Linked DNA regions of Homo sapiens: region 2 is linked to region 1. Evidence: promoter capture Hi-C in 16 types of primary human blood cells and fetal thymus (Javierre and others, 2016). All regions are on one chromosome and are shown on one strand. Each heading gives the region's core, a stretch centred on a gene start or on the middle of the fragment in contact. The rest is flanking DNA. Distances are from core to core; before and after follow the strand shown.

Region 1 (5,645 bases), core at 962-3,461:
TGTGTTCACAAACCAATAAACTCCCTGACCTTGGTATCCAGAGCTTTTATGAGGGTTTTATTATATAGGCAGGATTGATTGAATCATTGACCATATGATTGAACTTGTTGGGGCACAGGGAAAGCTTCCCCTATGTACTCTGAAGCTTCACTGAAAATCACTGTCAAGAGGCAGATTAATAGAAGAAAAGGCATACACATTTATTTAACATGTACGCAGAAGCCTTCAGAATGAAGACCTAAAGATACAGGGGAAATTGTCCATTTTTATGCTTAGGTTCAACAAAGTATGGACAGCTATGTAGAAATATGACTGGACATAATGTGTATGATCTAATGCTAAGAGACTGAGTGGGGAAACCCAGCCAGGCCTGTCTAGATTCTTCTTGGGCGCTCTGTGTAGTATTTCTTTTGTATATGGGGCAGGGCCCTCTCTGGAACGGAGGTCCTACGACTTACAGTCAAACAAGGTAAGTCAAATAATTTCTTTGTGGCCAGTTTTTACACGAAAAAATAAAATTTTTAGGTTTCTTATTGTTTTTTTCTTTTCTTTTCTTTTCTTTTTTTTTGAGATGGAGTCTCACTCAGTTGTCTAGCCTGGAGTGCTGTGGTGTGATTTCGGCTCAATGTAAGCGCCGCTTCCCAGGTTCAAGAGATTCTCCTGCCTCACCCTCCTGAGTAGCTAATATTACAGGTATGTGACACCACGCCCAGTTAATTTTTGTATTTTTAGTAAAGACGGGGTTTCACCATGTTGGCCAGGTTGGTCTCGAAGTCCTGACTTTAAGTGACCTGCCTGCCTCAGCCTCCCTAAGTGCTGGGATTACAGGCATGAGCCAGCGCGCCCGGCCTAAACAAGCTTATATTAAAGATGACAATTTATTACTTATAAACAAATCAATAAATCTTGCTGGGTAACTAGTTCATTAACTCAAGACTCAATCAACAAAACTAAAAGTAAATTCTGAATGTAACATAGAATTTAAAAACCATAATACTCAATGCTGGTAAACATACACAGCAGTTACTGCTGGCAAAAGTGAATGGAATAAAACTTTTGAGGAAAATGTAGTAACAGTTATCAAAATACCTTAAAATCTGCATCCTTTGTGACAAAGCGCTTCAATTCTACATTTTCCTCAGGAAGTAAATTTTGTACAGTTCTCCTTTAAATTAGGAAAAGAAAATTAGCACATTATTGCTAAGTACTAGAAATACTGTGAAAGTGGACCTAGAAAATTCTTATGATGGAATATTAAGCAGATATAAATTACTGCTTTTAAAATTTTTCCTAATGTGAATTTTCTAAGCTTTTAACCGTGAACATAGATTCCCTTTGGCAAACCACCTTGATTAAATTATAGACAGAATAGAATTTTGGTAATAGTTCCGAGTATGTATAATGTTAAAGGTGGTACTTAATCCGCAGGGAAAAGATGAATTATTTAAAAAATCTGGTTGATTAATAAATTCCTAGGGAATTGGTTAACACTGTAGCAGGCAGAATTCAGGAGAAGAAATAATAAAGACATTAAAATCACTTTTGTAAACTTTTTAAATAAGGGAAATTGATTAAAACAACGCGAAGTTGTAAAATGCCATATACTGCATACATTTTGTGGGAAAAAATGTGCATTTATCTGCTCACCAAATTATCTTATTAGCTAGCAGTAGAGCTCTTTGTGTGATGGGAAGATGGGATAACAGGCTGTTGTTACTGTACTGGTTTTTTTTTTTAATATATTTAAAAAAAAGAGTGTCTCCTAAAGTGTAAGCGCTATCATGCTGGACTAATGTTTTAATTTAATTTAATTGTTGTCTTGGTAGAGATGGGGTCTCGCTATTTTGCTCACGCAGATCTCAAACTCCTGACGCCCAGGTACACTCCCATCTCGGCCTCCTAAAATGGTGGGATCACAGACGTCAGCCACCGAGCCCGGTCACTTTTTTGTATTCCCCACAGTATTGATGTATATCTTCTGCGTTCAAAAGCAATTTTTTAAAGCCTCATAACGTGGTAACAGAATACTTTGCACATTACAAAATTCAGAACACGGAAACAAGAAGCTCGCTTTTTTTTCCCCCCTATTTCGGTTTGGCCCTTTAGATTTCCCCTCCCCCACCGGGGCGGGACTTCCCGCCGACTTCTTTCAGGTTCTCAGTTCGGTCCGCCAACTGTCGTATAAAGGCGCTGCCTCAGGCCAGAGGCCTCACAAAGCGTTGGGTGAGACTCCTCTTGCTCGTCATGTCTGGCCGCGGCAAAGGCGGGAAGGGTCTTGGCAAAGGCGGCGCTAAGCGCCACCGTAAAGTACTGCGCGACAATATCCAGGGCATCACCAAGCCGGCCATCCGGCGCCTTGCTCGCCGCGGCGGCGTGAAGCGCATCTCCGGCCTCATCTACGAGGAGACTCGCGGGGTGCTGAAGGTGTTCCTGGAGAACGTGATCCGGGACGCCGTGACCTATACAGAGCACGCCAAGCGCAAGACGGTCACCGCCATGGATGTGGTCTACGCGCTCAAGCGCCAGGGCCGCACCCTCTACGGTTTCGGTGGTTGAGCGTCCCTTTCTATCAATAAAAGGCCCTTTTCAGGGCCACCCTACTTTCTCAGCTGAAGAGTGGTAACACTGAGGAGTGGTTTTGGTAGGTACGGAATTTTGCTTGGTTCTGAGTCAGTTCTGGGGGGAACAGTTTTTTGAACACAGCGGCACACGTGTGGCCATTCACCCGGGGTCACTGTAGGCAGGACTAATTACGAGATGTAATGTCTAAACTTGCTCAAAATTCGTAAGCTTGTTTACGTAATGGAGAAAATACTCGTACACAGAATGTGCAGTACCAGAAACGTTTATGTAACCCCCGTAGTGAGCTTGACAGTGGTAATCGGAAATCGTTTTTGAAAAGCCTCCAAATCCACAAGTATTTGTGGGTTTTTTTTGTTTCGTCTTTGTCTGCGAGTTGGAGTGCAGCGGCGCGATCTCGGCTCACTGCAACTTCCGCCTCCTGGGTTCAAGCGATTCTCCTGCCTCAGCCTGCCGAGTAGCTGGGATTACAGTTTTGCGCCACTACACCCAGCTAATTTTTGTATTAGTAGAGATGGGGTTTCACTATGTTGGCCAGGATGGTCTCGATCTCCTGACCTCGCGATCCGCCCGCCTTGGCCTCTCAAAGTGCGACCTCTTAAAGAATTTTAAGATAATTTTTTACTTTCCTCCACCCTCATTAAGGTATGACAACTTACATGTACAATCTGATCTGACATATATTCATTGTGTAATGATTACATCGAGCTTAACATCCACCTCACTTTCTGTGGTGAGAACATTTAAGGCCTATCAGCAATTTTCCAGTATCAAGTACATTAACTATTATCACCATGCTTTAAAGTAGATCTCCAGTATTTATACCTCCCGAGTCCCATTGTTACCTCCATCCTTGTTCTCTGGCAATGACAATTTTACTCAGTTCAACATTTTTAGATTCCTCATGTAAGTGAGATCACGCAGTTTTTGTTTTTCTGTGCCTAGTTTGTTTTACTTTGCATAATGGTCTCCAGTTTCATCTATAAGAAATGACAAGATTTATTTTAAGGCTGAGTAGTATTTCATTGTATATATGCCCCATTTTCCTTATCCATTCATCTGGCATTGGACACTTGATTTGAGTTTAAATTCATAAATGGAATCTAGTGAGTAAAAGCTATTTTTTGTTTTCTTTTTGGTGAGGTTCAGTCACTTATTGTTATGATGATGAAAATGATGGATGTGTCATTGGTGACATCAAAAGATCTGGAAGGACAATAATAGTCGCATTGATTCAGTTGAAGCAAAAGTACAAAACTCTGTAGTCCAAGTAATTACCACAAAGGAATTGTAATCATACTTTTTTTTTAATTTGAATTTTTGTTAAGGGAAAAAAATTGTATTTTACATGAAAAACAATTATTTATTTATTTATTTATTTATTTTATTGATCATTCTTGGGTGTTTCTCACAGAGGGGGATTTGGCAGGGTCATAGGACAATAGTGGAGGGAAGGTCAGCAGATAAACAAGTGAACAAAGGTCTCTGGTTTTCCTAGGCAGAGGACCCTGCGGCCTTCCGCAGCGTTTGTGTCCCTGGGTACTTGAGATTGGGGAGTGGTGATAGGCGGTGATAGGTGAGATAGGCGGTTTTTCCCCATCTCAGTAGATGGAACGTACAATCGGGTTTTATACCGAGACATTCCATTGCCCAGGGACGGACAGGAGACAGTTGCCTTGCTCTTGTCTCAACTGCAAGAGGCATGCCTTCCTCTTATACTAATCCTCCTCAGCACAGACCCTTTACAGGTGTCGGGCTGGGGGACGGTCAGGTCTTTCCCTTCCCAAGAGGCCATATTTCAGACTATCACATGGGGAGAAACCTTGGACAATACCTGGCTTTCCTAGGCAGAGGTCCCTGTGGCCTTCTGCAGTGTTTGTGTCCCTGGGTACTTGAGATTAGGGAGTGGTGATGACGCTTAAGGAGCATGCTGCCTTCAAGCATCTGTTTAACAAAGCACATCTTGCACCGCCCTTAATCCATTTAACCCTGAGTTTGACACAGCACATGTTTCAGAGAGCACAGGGTTGGGGGTAAGGTCACAGATCAACAGGATCCCAAGGCAGAAGAACTTCTCTTAGTACAGAACAAAATGAAAAGTCTCCCATGTCTACCTCCTTCTACACAGACACGGCAACCATCCGATTTCTCAATCTTTTCCCCACCTTTCTCCCCTCTCTATTCCACAAAGCCGCCATTGTCATCCTGGCCCGTTCTCAATGAGCTGCTGGGCACACCTCCCAGACGGGGCCGTGGCCGGGCAGAGGCACCCCTCACGGCCCGGATGGGGCGGCTGGCCGGGCGGGGGGCTGACCCCCCCACCTCCCCCCCGGACGGGGCGGCCGGCCGGGCAGAGGGGCTCCTCACTTCCCAGTAGGGGCGGCCGGGCAGAGGCGCCCCTCACCTCCCGGACGGGGCGGCTGGCCGGGCGGGGGGCTGACCCCCCCACCTCCCTCCCGGACGGGGCGGCTGGCCGGGTTGGGGGCTGACCCCCCCACCTCCCTCCCGGATGGGGCGGCTGGCCGGGCAGAGGGGCTCCTCACTTCCCAGTAGGGGCGGCCGGGCAGAGGCGCCCCTCACCTCCCGGACGGGGCGGCTGGCCGGGCGGGGGGCTGACCCCCCCACCTCCCTCCCGGACGGGACGGCTGGCCGGGCGGGGGGCTGACCCCCCCACCTCCCTCCCGGACGGGGCGGCTGGCCGGGCGGGGGGCTGATTCCCCCCACCTCCCTCCCGGACGGGGCGGCTGGCTGGGCAGAGGGGCTCCTCACTTCCCAGTAGGGGCGGCCGGGCAGAGGCGACCCTCACCTCCCGGACGGGGCAGCTGGCCGGGCGGGGGGCTGACCCCCCCACCTCCCTCCCGGACTGGGCGGCTGGCCGGGCGGGGGGGCTGATCCCCCCACCTCCCTCCCGGACGGGGCGGCTGGCTGGGCAGAGGGGCTCCTCACTTCCCAGTAGGGGCGGCCGGGCAGAGGCGCCCCTCACCTCCCGGACGGGGCGTCTGGCCGGGCGGGGGGCTGACCCCCCCACCTCCCTCCCGGACGGGACGGCTGGCCGGGCGGGGGGC
Region 2 (5,645 bases), core at 1,900-4,399, 710 kb before region 1:
GAGGCTCCAGGGAGAGTGAACCATTTTTAGGCCAAATTTCTTGGGAAATTAATTTGTACTAAACACTGTTATAATAGAAGATGAGTTTTTAAGACATCAAATTTGAATTTGCTTTAGTTGCCTAAAAGGCACCCTAGCAGGAAGTGTTTCAGGACGCTCACTGTTGTTATGTCTACCAGAGATACCTACTAAACCCAGAAATTCTTCCAAGTCCAGAGAGTCCAGTTACTTTTCCTTTCAAATTTCCACCTCCCTTTTCTTCAAGAGCAGTAGGGAAATTACCACTGACTCCTGCCAAAAGAACATGGGTATCAAGAAGTAGGTGCCACAAAAGTGAAAGATGAGTGGGCAGTGGGCTGGCAACTACCATCACTAGCTAATGGAATGTTACAAAGAAGGCACTTTAAGTATGGAAGTAAAAAAACGCTGACCAAATTAAGAACCCTTAGTGGAAATTTAAACCCCAATCTTAGAAAGGTGACCAAAAAACAAAGCCCCTAGGGCAGGACTCTCAATTCTAACGCCACGTAGAGTGGGACTGACAATAACCCAATAAATTCCCCCTAGAGTGGGACTCTAACCCAATCCTAGAAGGAACATGGCTCTGACATACAACCATGCATTTAGGAACTGAATGGTAATATCAAGTAGCCAGTCATTAGAGATTTAATAGACGATGGTCAAAAACGGGGCAATGGGGACATAATCTGAACATGGGACTAGCTGGAGGCCCCACTTTCATTTCCTGGTTTACCCAGAAAGGTCAATATGACAGGGAAATCACAGAAACCACATGGTGCCAATTGGCCATTAATTTGGGTCCAGGCAAAGGTTTCCAAAGCTTCAGTGTACAACCAGTTAGTCACCAAGAAAACATGGCTCTGAAAAGAGCCTTTGGCTAGTATATAGCATTACAGTATCACAACTCCAAACTTTATCTTGATGGTCAACCCGCTCATCTTGATGCTCCCTTCATGGTCTCTTCATTTTGATGGTTCCTTCCTTCAGGGTCACCAGGCTGACACAGGTGAACCCCAAAATTGGGACTTAACCCTGGAGGGCTTTTGGCTTCAGAGTTAATTTAAAAACACTTCCTAGACCAATAGTGTACAGCAAACTGCTCCATAAACAAAGGGCGACCTGTGTGCTAACCCACAGGCAGCACAGCCTGTAGTAGTAGTATACAGAAAAGTGGGTGCTCCACAGAGCACAAGCTAACCCACAGGCAGAGCAGCCAAGTAGCAGCATGCAGCAAAGTGGGCGCTCCACACAGCACAAGCTAACGCACAGGCAGAGCAGCCCAGAGTAGCAGCATGCAGCATAATAGGTGCTCCACAGAGCAAGGCTCACCCATAGAGCATCCCAGAGTAGCAGCATAGTACAGCAAAGCGGGTGCTCCACAAAGCAAGGCTAACCCATAGGCAGAGAAGCCTACAGCAACTGTGTACAGCAAGGTGGATGCTGCAGAAAGCACAACTAACCCACAGGCAGAACAGCCCAGAATAGCAGTGTACAGCAAAGTGGATGCTCCACCAGTAGAACAGACAGGAAGGGCAGGAGCAGTGTTCAGCAACAGGAGCAGTCCAGAGCAGGAGTCAGAGCAGGAGCCAGAACTGAAGAAAGAGCCACAGTAAAGCACACAGGCTAGCTATATTTATACCCACTATTAATTATATGCTAATTAAGTAGTGTGTTATTCAGAATTTTCTAGAAAAGGGGTGGGGGGAGCTCCCAGAACCCTATAGGGTAACTTCTGAGTCATGTCCATGGCATTTGTAAACTGTCATGGCGCCGATGGGAGTGTCTTTATTCTAATGAGCTGTGAGGGCAACTAGAGGTTGCTTTGTCACCATCTGCTGGTTTCAGCCAGCTGTTTTGTTTTGTTTTGTTTGAGACTGAGTCTGGCTCTATTGCCCAGGCTGGAGTGCAGTGGCTCGATCTTGACTCACTGCAACCTCCACCTCCCGGGTTCAAGCAATTCTCATGCCTCAGCCTCCCTAGTAGCTGGTATTACAGGTGCATGCCACCATGCCCAGCTAATTTTTGTATTTTTAGTAGAGATGGGGTTTCACCATATTGGCCAGGCTGGTCTCGAACTCCTGACCTTAGGTGATCTGCCCACATCAGCGTCCTGAAGTGTTGTGATTACAGGTGTGAGCCACTGCACCCAGCCAGGGTTTTTTGTTTTTGAGACAGGGTCTTGCTCTGTCGCCCCAGCTGGAGTGCAGTGGCACAATCGTAGCTCACTGCTGCCTTGATCTCCCAGGCTCAAGCAATCCTCCCACCTCAGCCCCACAAGCAGCTGAGACTACACATGTAGGCCACCATGTCTCGCTAATTTTTTTTTAACTTACATTTTTAGGGATGGAGTTCTCACTATGTTGCCCAGCTGATATCGAACTTCTAGGCTCAGGGGATCCTCCCACCTCAGCCTCTCAAAGCACTGGGATTATAGGTGTGAGCCACCACTCTGCTGAGGTTTTTTTGTTGTTTTTTTTTTACTGCATCCTGTTTTTGATCAGCATGGTCATTACCGGTGCTTGGAAAAGAAGTCCTGCTGATCTCCTACCTCACTTTGGAAAATTCTTTTCAAGATTAAGTATATGACTATTTATAAAGAACTTAGTACAGTGAGACCAATGATCAATTATTTAAAGTTGTTTTACTCTTGTTAGTGTCATTATTAAATTTTTTAATTCTTTTCATTATTCCGTATCCCATGTTGTTGTATTTTCACAGTGAATATGAGTCTGCATCCAGTTATGGCCAATGACTTCATATTCTTTTGTGATCTATGGAGTTTCAGATGTGAGTACATTCAGACAAGACAAGACCATCACAAACCACTGAGATATATTCATCTCTGCTGCTTGTGACCTGGGGTCCTCCTTCTTCCCCTCTGACTGCCACTATTGGGAGGCAGAAGTAGGAAGAACAACAGAATGGGCTGTGGGTGTAATTTTATCATTTTTTTTTAGAATTACTTTTTTTTTTTTTTACATTTTTGCTTTTAAAAATAGTTTTGCTAAAGTATAATTGGCATATGATAAACTGCACATAAAGTATACATGTTAATGAGTGTGACATAAGTATTCATATGAACCCGTTACCCTAATCAAGACACTGAACTTGCTGGGCACAGTGGTTCACGCCTGTAATCCCAGCACTTCAGGAGGCCGAGGCGGGCGAATCACCTGAGGTCAGGAGTTCGAGACCAGCCTGACTAACATGGTGAAACCCCATCTCTACTAAAAATACAAAAATTAGCCGGGCATGGTGGCATATGCCTGTAATCCCAACTACTCAGGAGGCTGAAGCAGGAGAATCACTTGAACCCGGGAGGCAGAGATGGCAGGGAGCCAAGATCACGCCATTGCACTCGAGCCTGGGCAACAGAGCAACACTCTGTCTCAAAAAAAAAAAAAAAAAAGTGAACTTATCACCTCTAAAATGTACTTGTCCCCCTTTGTAATACCTTTCTCCTATCTCACTTTGTCCCCCAACTCAAAGGAACCACTGATCTAACCTTTGTCACTGTAGATTAGTTTGTATTTTCTAGTTTTGTAAAAATAGAATCCAGTATGTACTGTATTTTGATCAGTTTCTTTTACTCAGCATAATTATTTACTCAGCAGTCCTTGCTGGTTTCATGATGTAAGTGGTCGTGTGGGGAAAGTCCACATGGCCAGGAGCTTCAAGCTCCTCTAGGAAGTGCGGGCAGCCTCTCAGAATTAAAGGCGTCTTCCAGCCAGCAACCAGCAAGAAGCGGGTGTCCTCATACCTAAAGCTGCAAGGAAATGAATTCCGCCAACAACCTGAGTGAGCTTGGACATGGATTCTTCCCCAGTCAAGTGTCTAGATGAGAATGCATCCTGGTGGGACACTTCAATTAGTCTTGTGAGACCCTAAGCAAAAGACCTAACTAAGTCATGCCCAGACTCCTGATCATTTATTATCCTGAGATAATAAACGTATGTTGTTTTGAGACCCTGAAGTTTGTGCTAATGTATTTTGCAGCAACAAAAAACTAACATATTTTAGGCTGGGCACAGTGGCTAACACTGTAATCCCAGTGCTTTGGGAGGCCTAGGTGGAAGGATCACTTGAGACCACTAGTTCAAGACCAGCCTGGGCAATAGTGAGAAACTGCACCACCCCCCCACAACCCCTCGTCTCCACAAAAAAATTTCTAAAAATTAGCTGGGTGTGGTGGCACACACTTATAGTCCCAGCTACTCAGGAGGCTGAGGCAGGAGGATGGTTTGAACCCAGAAGTTCAAGGCTACAGCGAGCTATGATTGCACCACTGTGCCCCAGCCTGGGTGACAAAGTGAGACTCCATCTCAAACAAAAAGAAAAAGAAGAGTAACATATTTTGAATCAACAGTTTGTTTCTTTTGTTGCTTAATAGTATTTCTTTGCAGGGATATACCACAATATTTTAGCCATTCATCTATTGATGAACATTTGGATTATTTCCAGATTTAACTAATACAAATAAAGCTGCTATGAGTATTTTTGTACAAATCTTTATATGGACACATATTTCCTTTTCTCTTGAGTAGATACCTAGAAGTGCCATGGCTGAATCATATGGTAGTATGATTAACAACATTAGTTATATGATTAACTTTTTAAGAACCTGTCAAAATGTTTTCCATAGTATTTACATGCATAGGACAAATTTATAAGAGTTCCAATTCCGCTATGTCCTTTCCAATACTTCACCCTCAGTCTTTTAAATTTTAGGCATTCTAATAGATGTGTAGTGGTATTTGATTGTGATTTTAGTTTGCATTTCCCAAATGACTGATATTCAAAGTATTTTCCTGTGCTTATTTGCTAACAATATGTTTTCTTTGAAGTGTCTGTTCATATCTTTTGCCCACTTATTTAATTGGGTTGTTTATCCTCTTAGTGTTGAGAGTACTATATTAAGTATTGTTCATTCTGGATACCAGTCCTTTATCAGGTAAGTGCATTTATAAGTATTTCCCCGAGTTTGTGGCCTGATTTTTCATTTTCTTAACACTGACTTTCAAAGAGCTATTTTTAATTTTGAAGAAATCCAATGCATGTTTGTTCTTTTATGAATTCTGCTGTCATATCTAAGAAATCTTTGCCTAATCCAGTGTCATAAAAATTTCTTACATTTTCTTGTAGAGGTCTTGTAGTTTTAGGTTTTATGTTTAAATGTATGAACTGTTTTAATTTTTGCAAGGTATAGACACAAGTTCATATATATATATAACATATTATATATATATATATTTTGCATGTGGATATTCAATTTTTCTAACACTACTTTTTGAAAAGACTATCCTTTCCACCAGGATGCCTTTGGGCCTCTTTCAAACATCAGTTGTTTATATACATGTTGGTTTGTTTCTGGATTCTCTATTGTGTTCCATTGACCTACTTGCCTATCTTACAACCATACCATGCTGTCTGGCTTTCTGAAGCTTTATAATAATTCTGTGAAATGAGGTAGTTGATAGCCATCCAGGTTTGTTCTTTTTCGGAGTTGTTTTGGCAACTGTAGATCCTTTTCATTTCCATATTAATTTTGGAATCAGATTGCCAATTTCTGCAAAGAAACCTCCTGGGTTTTGACTGGGTTAGTGTTGAATTTGTGTATTCGTTTG

Evidence for each region. The method cuts DNA at HindIII sites, captures the fragments that hold promoters and counts their contacts. A CHiCAGO score of 5 or more calls a contact.
Region 2: a fragment that was not itself captured here is called in contact with the fragment with the promoter of H4C11 in region 1 in 1 of 17 cell types (naive CD8 T cells); the score reaches 5.1 in naive CD8 T cells.

The regions. Positions count from the first base shown.
Region 1 is chr6:27,821,881-27,827,525 of GRCh38, forward strand. It overlaps H4C11 (H4 clustered histone 11), which reads left to right and starts at 2,212. Exons shown (of 1, transcript NM_021968.4): 1 at 2,212-2,600. The coding sequence starts at 2,245. The coding sequence ends at 2,556. RefSeq lists enhancers at 1,932-2,071, 2,365-3,006, 3,649-4,290, 4,291-4,934. The HindIII fragment of the contact is 1,481 bases long and covers 1,308-2,788 here.
Region 2 is chr6:27,113,514-27,119,158 of GRCh38, forward strand. No RefSeq gene overlaps it. Among named protein-coding and RNA genes, the nearest start is that of H2BC11, 16 kb to the right of the region's middle. RefSeq lists an enhancer at 1,698-1,797. The HindIII fragment of the contact is 4,621 bases long and covers 840-5,460 here.